Regions from separate parts of the Homo sapiens genome. Here region 1 is linked to region 2. The links are contacts of gene promoters, found by promoter capture Hi-C in blood cells and fetal thymus (Javierre and others, 2016). All regions are on one chromosome and are shown on one strand. The core of a region is centred on a gene start or on the middle of the fragment in contact, and the rest is flanking DNA. Distances in the headings are between cores, read along the strand shown. Region 1 holds the start of PABIR3 (PABIR family member 3). Region 2 holds the start of ENOX2 (ecto-NOX disulfide-thiol exchanger 2).

Region 1 (5,682 bases), core at 350-2,849, 3.9 Mb before region 2:
ATCATTTAGTGTAGTGTTTCTAAATCCTTTTTTCATTATTGACCCTCTAAAAAGCCTTTTTAGACATTTTTCCCCTAATTGCTCCCCCTTCGTGAAATTTTAATAACACATATATAGTATATATCTGTGTACATACTGTATGTATATCTGCGCTTTATACATAAAAAGAGTAAAAATTTTTCACACTCCCCCAAGAACTATTTTCTCTTCCCCTTGGGGGAAGTATCACCCAGTGAGAATGTGTAATTTAGGAGATCAAGCTTCTGTGGTACCAAAACTTTCTGCTCCAATAAAAAATAGGTGTAGGCCAGGAGCAGTGGCTCACGTCTGTAATACCAGCACTTTGGGAGGCTGAGGCAGGCGGATCCCCTGAGGCCAGGAGTTCGAGACCAGCCTGGCCAACATGGTGAAACCCTGTCTCTACTAAAAATACAAAAAATTAGGCCGGGCACGGTGGCTTACGCCTGTAATCCCAGCACTTTGGGAGGCCGAGGCGGGCGGATCACGAGGTCAGGAGATCAAGACCATCCTGACTAACACGGTGAAACCCTGTCTCTACTAAAAATACAAAAAATTAGCCGGGAGTGTTGGTGGGCGCCTGTAGTCCCAGCTACTTGGGAGGCTGAGTCAGGAGAATGGCGTGAACCCGGGAGGTGGAGCTTGCAGTGAGCCGAGATCACGCCACTGCACTCCAGCCTGGGCGACAGAGTGAGACTCCGTCTCAAAAATAAATAAACAAATAAATAAAAAATAAAAATACAAAAAATTACCAGGTGTGGTGGTGGGCGCCTGTAATCCTAGCTACTAGGGAGGCTGAGGCATGAGAATTGCTTGAAGCCAGGAGGCGGAGGTTACAGTAAGCTGAGATCGTGCCAATGCACTCCAGCCTGGGCGACAGAGCAAGACTCCGTCTCAAAAAAAGACAAAAAAAAAAATGTAAAAAAGTCCAAAGCTTATTTGCTTGACAACCATTTCCATTCAAGCGGCTGGAGGTGAAGGTCAGAGGTGACAAAGCAGCTGAAATGACAAATATTACAGTCATGGCAGAAGATCTGGAGGTGAGTGGGGGAGGATACTAAGTTTCTTCAAAGGAGTGGGTAAGAAATGGGTTGAAGTTAGAAAAAAGCCGTGCTCCACACCAACTGGCTGCTACTTTCGGGTCCGAGTGGACTATCAGGGGAGGATGTTCAGATTCAGATGTTTGTCAACCTCAGGGTGGGTGCGCGCTCCCCCTCAGGTCAGCCCGTCCCACTACCCCCACCCAAGGTTGAGGGTGGGATCTCCGGACACCAGGAACAAGGGAGTTACCTGCAGAACCTCAACAAATAAAGGGACGGGAATTCTATAGGAAATCACTTTCCCGAACACCTCCTCCCCACCGCTTGCCTCCTCCAGTATCTCAACCCGGCTCACCCAAGTCCATTGATCAAAGGGGCACTGTTGACTCTTCTCAGAATGTTGCCGTCTGCGGTAGTGGAACTCGGCAGCGACTTGAAACCTAGTTTCATTTTCTCCTGTGCCATGTCCGGGTCGAGGAATAAGTTCTCAAGGCTTTCCGGCTCCCGTCCACACAAGGACAAGTCTACTTAGTGGGCAGGTGATGTAAGGAGAGAGGCAAAGGGGAAAAAGAGAAGAGAGGAGAAAGCTCTTAGGCGAGTAGGGGTGCCCACCTTTGCAGCCCTAGCAGCCCTAACATCAGTGAACACAAAGTTAGGCAGAACTGGCTCCGAACCGCCTATCTCCCATGATCGGGGCCTCTAACGATGAGAAGATCCCCCACCTCCAAGTCTATAATGTAACTGGGGAATTTAATCTGTCACCGCCGCGAATCCTTCTCCATCTCTCTCAGCCCTGGCAACTCATGGTAAGCCTTTCCGGCCAAAACAAAAACTACAATCTGCCGCCTTTGACAATCAGTTGGGTCCCGCCCCTCAGAGCCTGCGATAAGCTATCAGCCGGACGACGCCTGTTGTGATGCAGGCAATGACGTCACTTCAGGCGCCTTAGTCAGCTTTGCCAGGGGCGCACGCGCAGTTAAGAAACCGCTTTATCCCCATGTCCTGCCCTCCTTCCTCTTTCCCCAATGCCCACTTACCGTGGTTGTGCCTCTACTCTTTTACTAACCCTGGCATGGTTTCCTTAAGCATTATTTAGAAATGAAAGCGTTGGGAGGAGTGAGGTCCTTCCTGCCCTATGCCTAATTCTCATTTTTCTTATCCCTTTATGACTGAGGCCAACAAGCTTCTAACCTCCTATGATGCATTTTTCCATCCTGTAACAGCAGACACACTACACCTTTGTAATTTTAGAAAAGCAAAAGTCTGAAAAAAAAAAAAAAAAAAAGATACTGCTACCTAAGTGCTTAGAGGCCACTTGGTCCCAAAGGGTCTTGCTAAGGTGCTAACCTAACTGAGCTCATTTGGCAAACGAATTACTGTTTTCAGTGTGGTTTCTTTCTTTCTTTTTTAAACCATAATCGTACAGTTTTTTGTTTTTTTTTTTTTGAGATGGAATTTCGCTCTTGTTGCTCAGGCTGGAGTGCAGTGGCCGCGATCTCGGCTCACTGCAACCTCCACCTCCCAGGTTCAAGCGATTCTCCTGCCTCAGCCTCCCGAGTAGCTGGGATTACAGGTGCTCGCCACCACGCCTGGTTAATTTTTGTATTTTAGTAGAGACGGGGTTTCACCATGTTGGCCAGGCTGGTCTCGAACTCCTGGACCTCAGGTGATCCGCCCGCCTCGTCCTCCCAAAGTGCTGGGATTACAGGCGTGAGCCACCGCGCCTGCCTCAGTGTGTATTTTTACATTATATATAATCTGGCTCCTCACAGCTATTCATATAAAAAATAAAGACCTCAGCTAATTTACAAAGATTTGAGTTAAAGCAGTGAGGCTTTTTTAAAAACAAATATCTCAGAATTTAGTATCAATGCAAATCAGTGTTTTCATTTCAGGTAGTATTAGAAGCTACATACATTCTAAGAATGCTGCCATGGCTCATATCGTTTTAAGAACTACTCTTTTAGAAATTTTCACCATCACTTAATGAGCCACACTGAGTACTGAAATCTTAACTCCATGCTAATAATTTTGTAAAACCACACATTTTAGTAACCATATAGAGAACTGGCAGACAAGGCAAATAAACCTAGTGAAATGGGAGTTATTAATTAAAATAGTCATAACACTGGTATAGCACTTTACGGATAACATTTTTTTTTTTTTGAGACGGAGTTTCGCTCTTGTTGCCCAGGCTGGAGTGCAATGGCGCAATCTTGGCTCACCACAACCTCCACCTCCCTGGTTCAAGCGATTCTCCTGACTCAGCCTCCAGAGTAGCTGGGATTACAGGCATGTGCCACCACTCCCAGCTAATTTTGTATTTTTAGTAGAGATGGGGTTTCTCCATGTTGGTCAGGCTGGTCTCGAACTCCCGACCTCAGGTGATCCACCCGCCTCGGCCTCCCAAAGTGCTGGGATTACAGGTATGAGCCTCCACGCCTGGCCTACAAAATGTTTTCACATACTTATCTGGATTGGTTCAATCATCAACCCTGCTCAGCTACCCAGTGGTGAACTTAAAATAATGGGACAGTCTTGAGATAGTTCGTGACAAGTTATGACATGTAAGGTAATAAATATGTATTCTTTGTTCATTCTGGGAATAGAATAAGACAAACTTGAGTATATTAGGCAGAATTAGATTACTTAAATCCCAGACATGAGGATGATGTGGAGTCTCCATTCCTTATATAAGACAGATTAGTAATAGCTACCGTTTGTTGGGCACTTACTATGTGCCAGGTACTGTCCTAATCACTTTAAATAGGTGATTGCATTTAAAGTTTACAATAATTCTTTGAGGTAGGCACCATCACAATGCCCATTTTTCACAGGAGGAAACCAAAGCCCAGAGGGGTTTACTCAAGTTGCAACTACTAAGTGGCAAAGCCAAGATTCCTCTGCCCTTCTGTTTAAGTAAAAAAAAAAATGAGATGCCTCAGAATATCTCCTTGAATTTCTGTACTCATAAGCACTTGATAAATACTTCTGAAATTATTTTATGAATAAATGCAGGTTTAAATAGCCTATCTTTCATAGTTATCTTGTAAAGTAGGTAAATCATTTCTATTTTACAGTTGGATAAAATTCCAAAGAGATTAATGGCACATAATTAGATAGCAGGAGAATTCAGGCTAGTATCAAGATGTCCTAAAAGCCACTGTTAAAATTCCCAGGGTACCTGAACGTTTATAAAAGATGGTGGTTAAAGCTGAGTAAATTCAGGATGAATGCAGAAGGCAGTGATTAAAGACAGAACAGAGTCAAAAAACAAATTGTCTGAATAACAGAAAAATATGAAGCAGGCCAGTGAACAAGGGAATCTTACCTCCATTGTGTTCATTTTAATTTTCAACTTTTGCTAGTATTCTTGGCAGGTAGTAAGGTTTCATACGTATATTTTGAATAAATAGACAAAATTTCATCCTGCCTAAGCATTACAAGTATCTAATTTTTAAATAAGTACAACAACACTAAGAAAATAGGTATAATAAAATGACAAGGGAAGAGTGACTAAGGGACTATGTTTCTAAGAAAAGGAGTAATATGAAATAACTAAATATATGAGATGGTAATAAGTTTACAGCTATTATCAAAGAGAAGGAGCTCTCTTTTACAAAAGAACAGCTACATGTCAGGAACCCCAAACCTGTAAAGATATAAATAGGACTCATAGTACATACACAAATTGGAATATCAAAAGGAACAAGTAATACAAAAACAGCAAGAATTCTATATGCTACAATGGCAAACACAACATTAAAGAAATTGTTTTTACTTCTCCCCATTTCTACGCACACATTATTATACCAACCTAGCTGTGTTTCTTGATCAGTCCTTCCAGTTCCAGGGAAATATGCCATGATCTTGGGACACTGCTTTTGTTAGATCTAGACTTGACAATTAGGCTACTCCTCTCTTTGCATATCCCAGTCTGCTGCGTCTGTCCCAGGCCCTCACCTATAAAAGGGAACCAACAAACATGTGATAATCAGCTCTTTATTTTACCAGTTGTCATGACAACCTTGAAGCTACGTTGTAACCTTTAGTTACCACAAGAGCAAGTCAAATACAAGTCAAACCCAAATCTACAAACCACAAACACCCCAAACCTTCCCAAAAGATTTACATGAAAGGTTAAAAAAAAAAAAAAAACTAGCAGGCAAGAATGATGTTAATAAAACCTAGAAATGATGGCCAAAGTAGCATTATTCTCCTCGCGTTCTCCTAAATTGTTAAGCTCCTGAGGTCAGTGCATGCATGTGGTCAACAAATGATTGTTTAGTAGCTATTGTGAACAAAAGAATGTATTATAATTTCTTTTGAGCAGGGAGTAGGAGGTGGGGCTGGCCTTAAGGGTTGCTGAGACCTTGAGATAAAAAGAGATACCTAAGTTGCTCAAAAACAGAGGTTGTTGTTTCTAATCTAGCTGGGAGAAAAATACAGGCAATTTAAAGGAAACTATCTAAAAGTACTTACAAATCCCTCATACTGCAGGCAGAAAGCATAAACAGTGAGGAATAAAATGATAATTGGCCTTGGCAAGTTTAGTATGGGATAATTGAAAAGAGGCAGGCAAAATTATTATTTCTGGCTGAATTTTGAAAGCAATTTCAGAACT
Region 2 (5,927 bases), core at 1,000-3,499:
AAAAAAGATAAAAAGAAAGGAGACAAAGCTGAGAAAAGAAATTCTGCATTTGATTCACACAATGTTTTTCTGGTGGCCATAATACTGAAAATGCCTTGTTTCACTCCTTTTTATGGCTGAAATGAGGTGATTTTTCTTTTTCTCTTTTTTCTTTCTTTTTTTAATTTTTTAATTTTTTTTGAGACAGAGTCTTGCTCTATCACCCACTACACTCGAGTGTAGTGGTACAATATCGGCTGACTGCAGCCCTAACTTTCCAAGCTCAAGGGATCCTCCTGCTTCAGCTTCCTGAGTAGCTGGGACTACAGGCATGCGCCACTATGCCTGGCTAATTTTCTTGATTTTTTGTAGAGACAAGGTCTCATTATGTTGCCCAAGCTGGTCTCGAACTCCTGGGCTCAAGCAATCCTCCCAACTTGGTGTCCCAAAGTGCTAGGGTTACAGGCATGAGCCCCGGCACCCAGCCGATTTTTCTTTTTTTAAAAAAGCAAATTATTTTCCTGGAGGAATTTAAAAGTATAAAAAGTATTAAAACATAATATAGCAATTCAATTACCACCCTCCAGAATGATTCCCCATAATACCCTAGCTATGTGTTCCCAGTATGTTCTATGTGTATATGCTTTAAAAAATAAACACTATATAAGCACAAAAATTCCTCTGATGGTTCTCTCCCACTTTCAAGTTAAATTATGAACTAATTGATATGACCCCTTGTTGCTGCCTGATCTAGTCTCTGCAATATGGAACTTTTGCTATTGTTCTCTGCACTCTTTCATGCCTTTATGCCTTTGCATATGCTTTGTATAGAATATGGTTGACCTCCCTGCCCCAAATCTGACAAATATTTTACTGGTTCTTCAACCAGTTCTCCAGAAGTAGAACAAGTTCTTCCTCCTCTATGTTCCTATAGAACCCTATGTAGACTTCTTTACAGCATTTTGCACATTGTATACTCATCTATTCCTCCCCCCAGATTCTCCTCTACTACAACTCCCCTCACCTGGATTTTGAGCTACTTGAGGGTAGGGACTATTTTTCCAATTCTGTGGCAACAGTGCCTAGCCCAGAGCTTTGCACAAAGCACTATGCTGAATAAATGGTTGAATTTATTAAATCGTCTTCCTCCTTCACTTATCTTTTTAAAATATTGGGCAATTACCTCAGCAAAATGCAATTCCCCTGTCTTTCCCTTCATTTTACTCGTGAGTCGAAAAGTTGTCCTCATCAAGAAGTTGTAGTAATTCAACTGTAACAAGGCTACAAGGATTCATCTCTAACAGAGAAAAAAAAAGGTCAAAAGTTGGGAGTGAAATTAGCCCTAATAAACAACCATTTTCCTCAACCTTTAAGTCACTTGGAAGTGCTTGGCATTCCCCACCTATGTCTTTATCCAGCTCTTGTAACATATTTTTACTCAAAAGGTTAAGTTTCTTAAAGACACATATAGTTACTCGTTTGTACTTAAGTTGTATTGTCTATCTGTTCTAAATTGTTATTTATAGCAGTTTATGTGGCCACTGTTTTTCATGGCAACAACATAGCTTCATTATGGATTAAATAGGCTTCTTCTGGGCTGGTGTAGATCACATTTCTATGCCTATTTATGACACTGTTTCCAGGGGGAACTATAATTTCCAATTAGAAAAAAATATATACATTCTTCCATACCTTTCAAGTGATTTTAATGCAGGTGGTTCACAAGGAACACACTTTAACAATTTTAAAGGACTATAACTCTCAATTAAAATTCTAAGCTTACCAAAGAATAAACATCATCTTTTGAAAAACACTTAAAACTCAATAACAATTTCAAATCACGATAGAAAGTGCTTCCCGCAAAATGCTAAGAGCTTAACCGACATGAAAATAAATCTAGAGCCTTCGTCTGTCCCCACAAGCACAAACCCATAACCCCAAGAGAGATTCTCTAGACAGTGCACCCAAACTACAATACCCAGAATACCCTTCCCCGTCTGAACGCTGGGGACAATCGGAAGGGGAGGGGAAGAATTGTGCGTATAGAGAAATAAGTGTCCCGCAACTCCATCTCCCATAATTCTCGGTCCTCACTTGTGTCTGTCTGCCAATGTCAACACGAGTTACCCCCAGGAAGAACAGCCTCCAGCGACCTCAAACTACATTTCCCATGAAGCCATGGGCTCGGGCCTCCGGCTTCCCCGGTGACCAGTAGCCAATAGGAGACGCCGCAGTGGGCACCCTGTGTGTGAGAGTCCAGCCTTGGGCCAGAGTGCCGGGTCTAGGCCTGGAAGCGCGAGGCGGGCATTTCGGAAGAGAGTGGCGCGGCGTGGGGCGCCGCGAGGGCACTACGAGCCCAGGAACTGCCGCGCCGGCCCGATTTTCCGCGGCTGTATAAGGACTAGCGCTTCGGTAGCCGGGGAGCTGGAGGTCAGAGAGGCAGAAAGCCCCGGTGGCCGTGGCTGGGGACTGTGGGACTGAGGGGGCCTAGGGAGGAGGGTGCTTCCGGGGCCGCGGTCCTCAGCGCCTAACTCCACCCAGCTCCACCTCTGCAGGGGAGGGGGTATCGGGACTGGGAGTCGGGGGTGGGCTTTTGAGCTCTAGGCGCCAGTTCTCTTGAGCCCGGGAGCGCGCTGTCTTTGCTCTTTTTTTTTTTTTTTTTTGGTCCAACTCGCCCGCCCCTTTTTTTTTTTCCCACGACGCCGCCCCCCTCCCCCTGGCTCTGTGCCTCCTCAGAGGTCCGAAGTTGGGGTTTGCGTCCAGGGTTTTGCCTAGGCGGTGACTGGACTCTAATTCTTACCGCAGGAATTGGGTGATCTCTTTCCTCTTTTCCCTCAATTTGTATTTCAGGTTTGGGCACATAACCCTCCCTGCGCTACACTCCCCATTTTCTTTGGGGCATGGGAATTCCTTGCCACGCTCAGGGCGTGACTTTTTTTTTTCAAACTTTCTCTTTTTGCCTCCTTAATTGATCGCCATCTCTTTACTGGCCCCTCAGCCACCTGCCACTTCCCCCACCAGGTCTTTGAAGTGGGGAGAGTTTCCCCTCAATTTCTAGAAGGGATGGGAAGCAAAAGAGGGAAGGAATCTTGCTTTTGAGAAATGTGTGTTTAAGGTTCAGTGCAGGGTTCTGGTGAGAGTAAAAGGCAAGTTAGACTGGTTATAAAAATCCAGCGCTTTAGGGGTTTCCAGCAAAGACTGATAGCACTAATGTTGACAAACATTTAGGGGGCACACCTTTATTCTACAGAATAAAGTAGACCGTGTGAAACAGACCATATTAATCATTGTATTATTACAAACGTGTGCAAAAAACGCTAAGAGGGGTCAGTGGAAGAGCATACTGATGGGGGTGGTGAGTTCATCTATGGAAGTTCAAGCCTAACCCGGGAAGTGCTGAAGCCCTCATCCGGCTTTCAGGCTTTGTGAAGGAGGTGAATTTTAATCTGGGCTCCAGCAGAGTACAGGGGATTTGAAGTTGTCAAAGAGGAGGGAGAAAATGCTTCCTGCTACTGAGATTGGACTTTGAGAAGGGTAAACAGAAGAGGGAGCACTGTGAGACAGGTGGGCTTGCCTGATTGGAATAAAAGATATCAGCACAAATATACTGGGAAATAAATAGGGTGGAGAAGCTTGGGGTCATAATAACATGATACTTTGAAACATACACATAGTTTGGATATTATTCTGTATCAAATAAAATTGAAGGCAAAAATTAAGATTGGATGATTTTTCTTTTCATCCTAGGGAACCTGATTTGAGATCAATTCTTGGAGAACACAAAGAAGTGTGATGGTATGTTCCAGGTGTGAGTTTAAATCCAAGAAGAAGCTTGTCTTGCAGATGTTTTGTTTGTAGCTATTCTTAGCTACAGTCTATAGCTGTCAACTTTAAAGCCTAGAGACATCGATATATTTTCTTAAGAAATGCATTTGCTGTCCCCGTGCATCACATTATCTGAACTGTAGTCATCTCATTGGGTGACAATAATGACTGCTATTTATTGAACCCACATAATGTCCTAGTCATCATCATAAATACTTTGTTGCATTATCTTGAGTGTTATGAAGTAGGTACTATTATTCCTGTTTCTTTTTCTAGAAGAAAACACTAAAATGCACAGAAGTTAAACAATCTACTTAAAGTCACATAGATTATAAGTTGAGTTGAGGTTTGGGTGTACAGATTTCTGACTCCAAAGCCCATGCTCTGTTCAACATGGTTTGCTGCTCCCAATGTTCTTTCTTGTTCTTGACTTTCCAGTTGTGGTAAGGAGAGATAGGTATAGTTCATCATCCTGGCCAAAACCCAAATGATTCACTTAAAATTTCTATGTCAGAATGTATTTGCTGTAAAGTAGCTGCCAAAACCAAATTAACTGTCATTGCAACTGTAGCTAATTGTGTCTGCCAAAACCATAGTCAGTACGGCTATTTCTGAATTAGATGATTCTCTTTATAACACATATCATACCTCTAAGCTATTTGGACCTTGATAGCACTTTGGATGTATTTTATTTTAGCATTTTAAGAAGTTACCTGGGACACTAGATCTCTTTCATGACCTCTGCCCACGTGAAGTGTTGGAGAAACAATGAAGTACAAGGTGTGAACTCTTCCTGGGGTCTAGCTGGGGAGCTGGATGCCCACAGTTCTGAGATACTGTAGTGTGTAGTATAACAGAGACAGGTACAAAATGCTATGGAGGGATAAAGGAAGGTGTGACTCACTGTAAGGGAGACTCGGGGAGAAGGCTTCCATGAGGAGGTGACATGAGATAGGTCTTGAAGGATAGTGAGTTTGCCCCAGGCAGGGAAGGAGTGGAGGGGAGGCATTTCAGATAGAGGAGTCAGTCTGTGAAAGATGTGTGGCTGTATAAGAGTAGGGCATGTTCATTCAATGTGGAAGAATTCAGCATGGTTGGAGTGCAGATAGTTGAGTAAAAGGAAACTGTAATGGGTAGGAGAAGAGTCTGGAAAGAGGTTGGGGCTGATTTGCAAAGAACCTTGATTGCAATCCTAAGTTGGAATGTGCCCCCATAGGTCAGTGGTTCTCAAAACGTAGGGCATCTGCCAGTGGTAGTTACACTGTGCTCCCACAAACATTTTAATTTTACTAGTTACATGTTCAAATATGTCTTAAAAAACATAAAACTGAACTAAGCCATCACATCTAAGATTACTTTGGATTTTACTTCATAAAAATAGAAAGTGAACCAGTTTTCAGTTCATTTAAAGACAAATATTAAGTAGTAATAGTACACATTGTGTGTGAATATGGTAAAAATCACTAAGTAATACTCAGACTGAAATTTGGGAAGTGCTGCTTGTAGGCCATAAGAAACCATTAACATGTTTTAGAAGAGCACCACGATCAGATTTTTACTGTAAGGAAAATGACAGTGGGAAGGATACAGTGGAGGTGGATATGATGAGGCTGCTACTCTGTTCCACAGAGAGACAATAAAGACCCAAGAGTAGTGACGTGAGCGGAGCGAAGAGATTTGAGAAACATTTAGGAGGTAAAATTATTAGGACTTGGTGGATGTTAATATTATTTTGTCAGTGTTACCAGAATTGTTTTAAAAGTCTGCATGCCCCCCTTGCCTCTTGTCCTTTATATTGTATGGTGAGCAATAATATTGCCAAAACATGCTATGTTTCTATGTTCATTAAGATTACAATGGAAGCTATAGTTACCACTCGAGTGGATTTGGATTACACACAAACATCCTTCCCACCTTACTCAGTGTCCTTGAGAGCAGTAGCACAAATATTCAAGGCACTGATTAGGAATATGACCATGATCTGTGACCCTTAGGCATGCAAGAAATTCCTCAGCCTTTAAGACTCAGCTCATATGTCAACACCTCTGTGAAGCCTTCCCGACAGCCCTTGCCCAACATACATGAATGCACGCACAAGGCAATGTTAGGCCTCGGGCTTCCAC

The links. The method cuts DNA at HindIII sites, captures the fragments that hold promoters and counts their contacts. A CHiCAGO score of 5 or more calls a contact.
Region 1: a fragment that was not itself captured here is called in contact with the fragment with the promoter of ENOX2 in region 2 in 4 of 17 cell types (non-activated CD4 T cells, total B cells, total CD8 T cells and 1 more); the score reaches 15.7 in non-activated CD4 T cells.

What each region holds. Positions count from the first base shown.
Region 1 is chrX:134,803,440-134,809,121 of GRCh38, reverse strand. It overlaps PABIR3 (PABIR family member 3), which reads right to left and starts at 1,885. Exons shown (of 11, transcript NM_001388447.1): 1 at 1,781-1,885; 2 at 1,414-1,582. The coding sequence starts at 1,523. RefSeq lists enhancers at 27-983, 1,369-1,528. The HindIII fragment of the contact is 1,289 bases long and covers 955-2,243 here.
Region 2 is chrX:130,899,531-130,905,457 of GRCh38, reverse strand. ENOX2 (ecto-NOX disulfide-thiol exchanger 2) reads left to right here and starts at 2,249. Exons shown (of 15, transcript NM_006375.4): 1 at 2,249-2,409; 2 at 3,727-3,774. RefSeq lists enhancers at 2,034-2,223, 1,844-2,363, 2,234-2,503, 2,364-2,883. The HindIII fragment of the contact is 1,854 bases long and covers 1,760-3,613 here.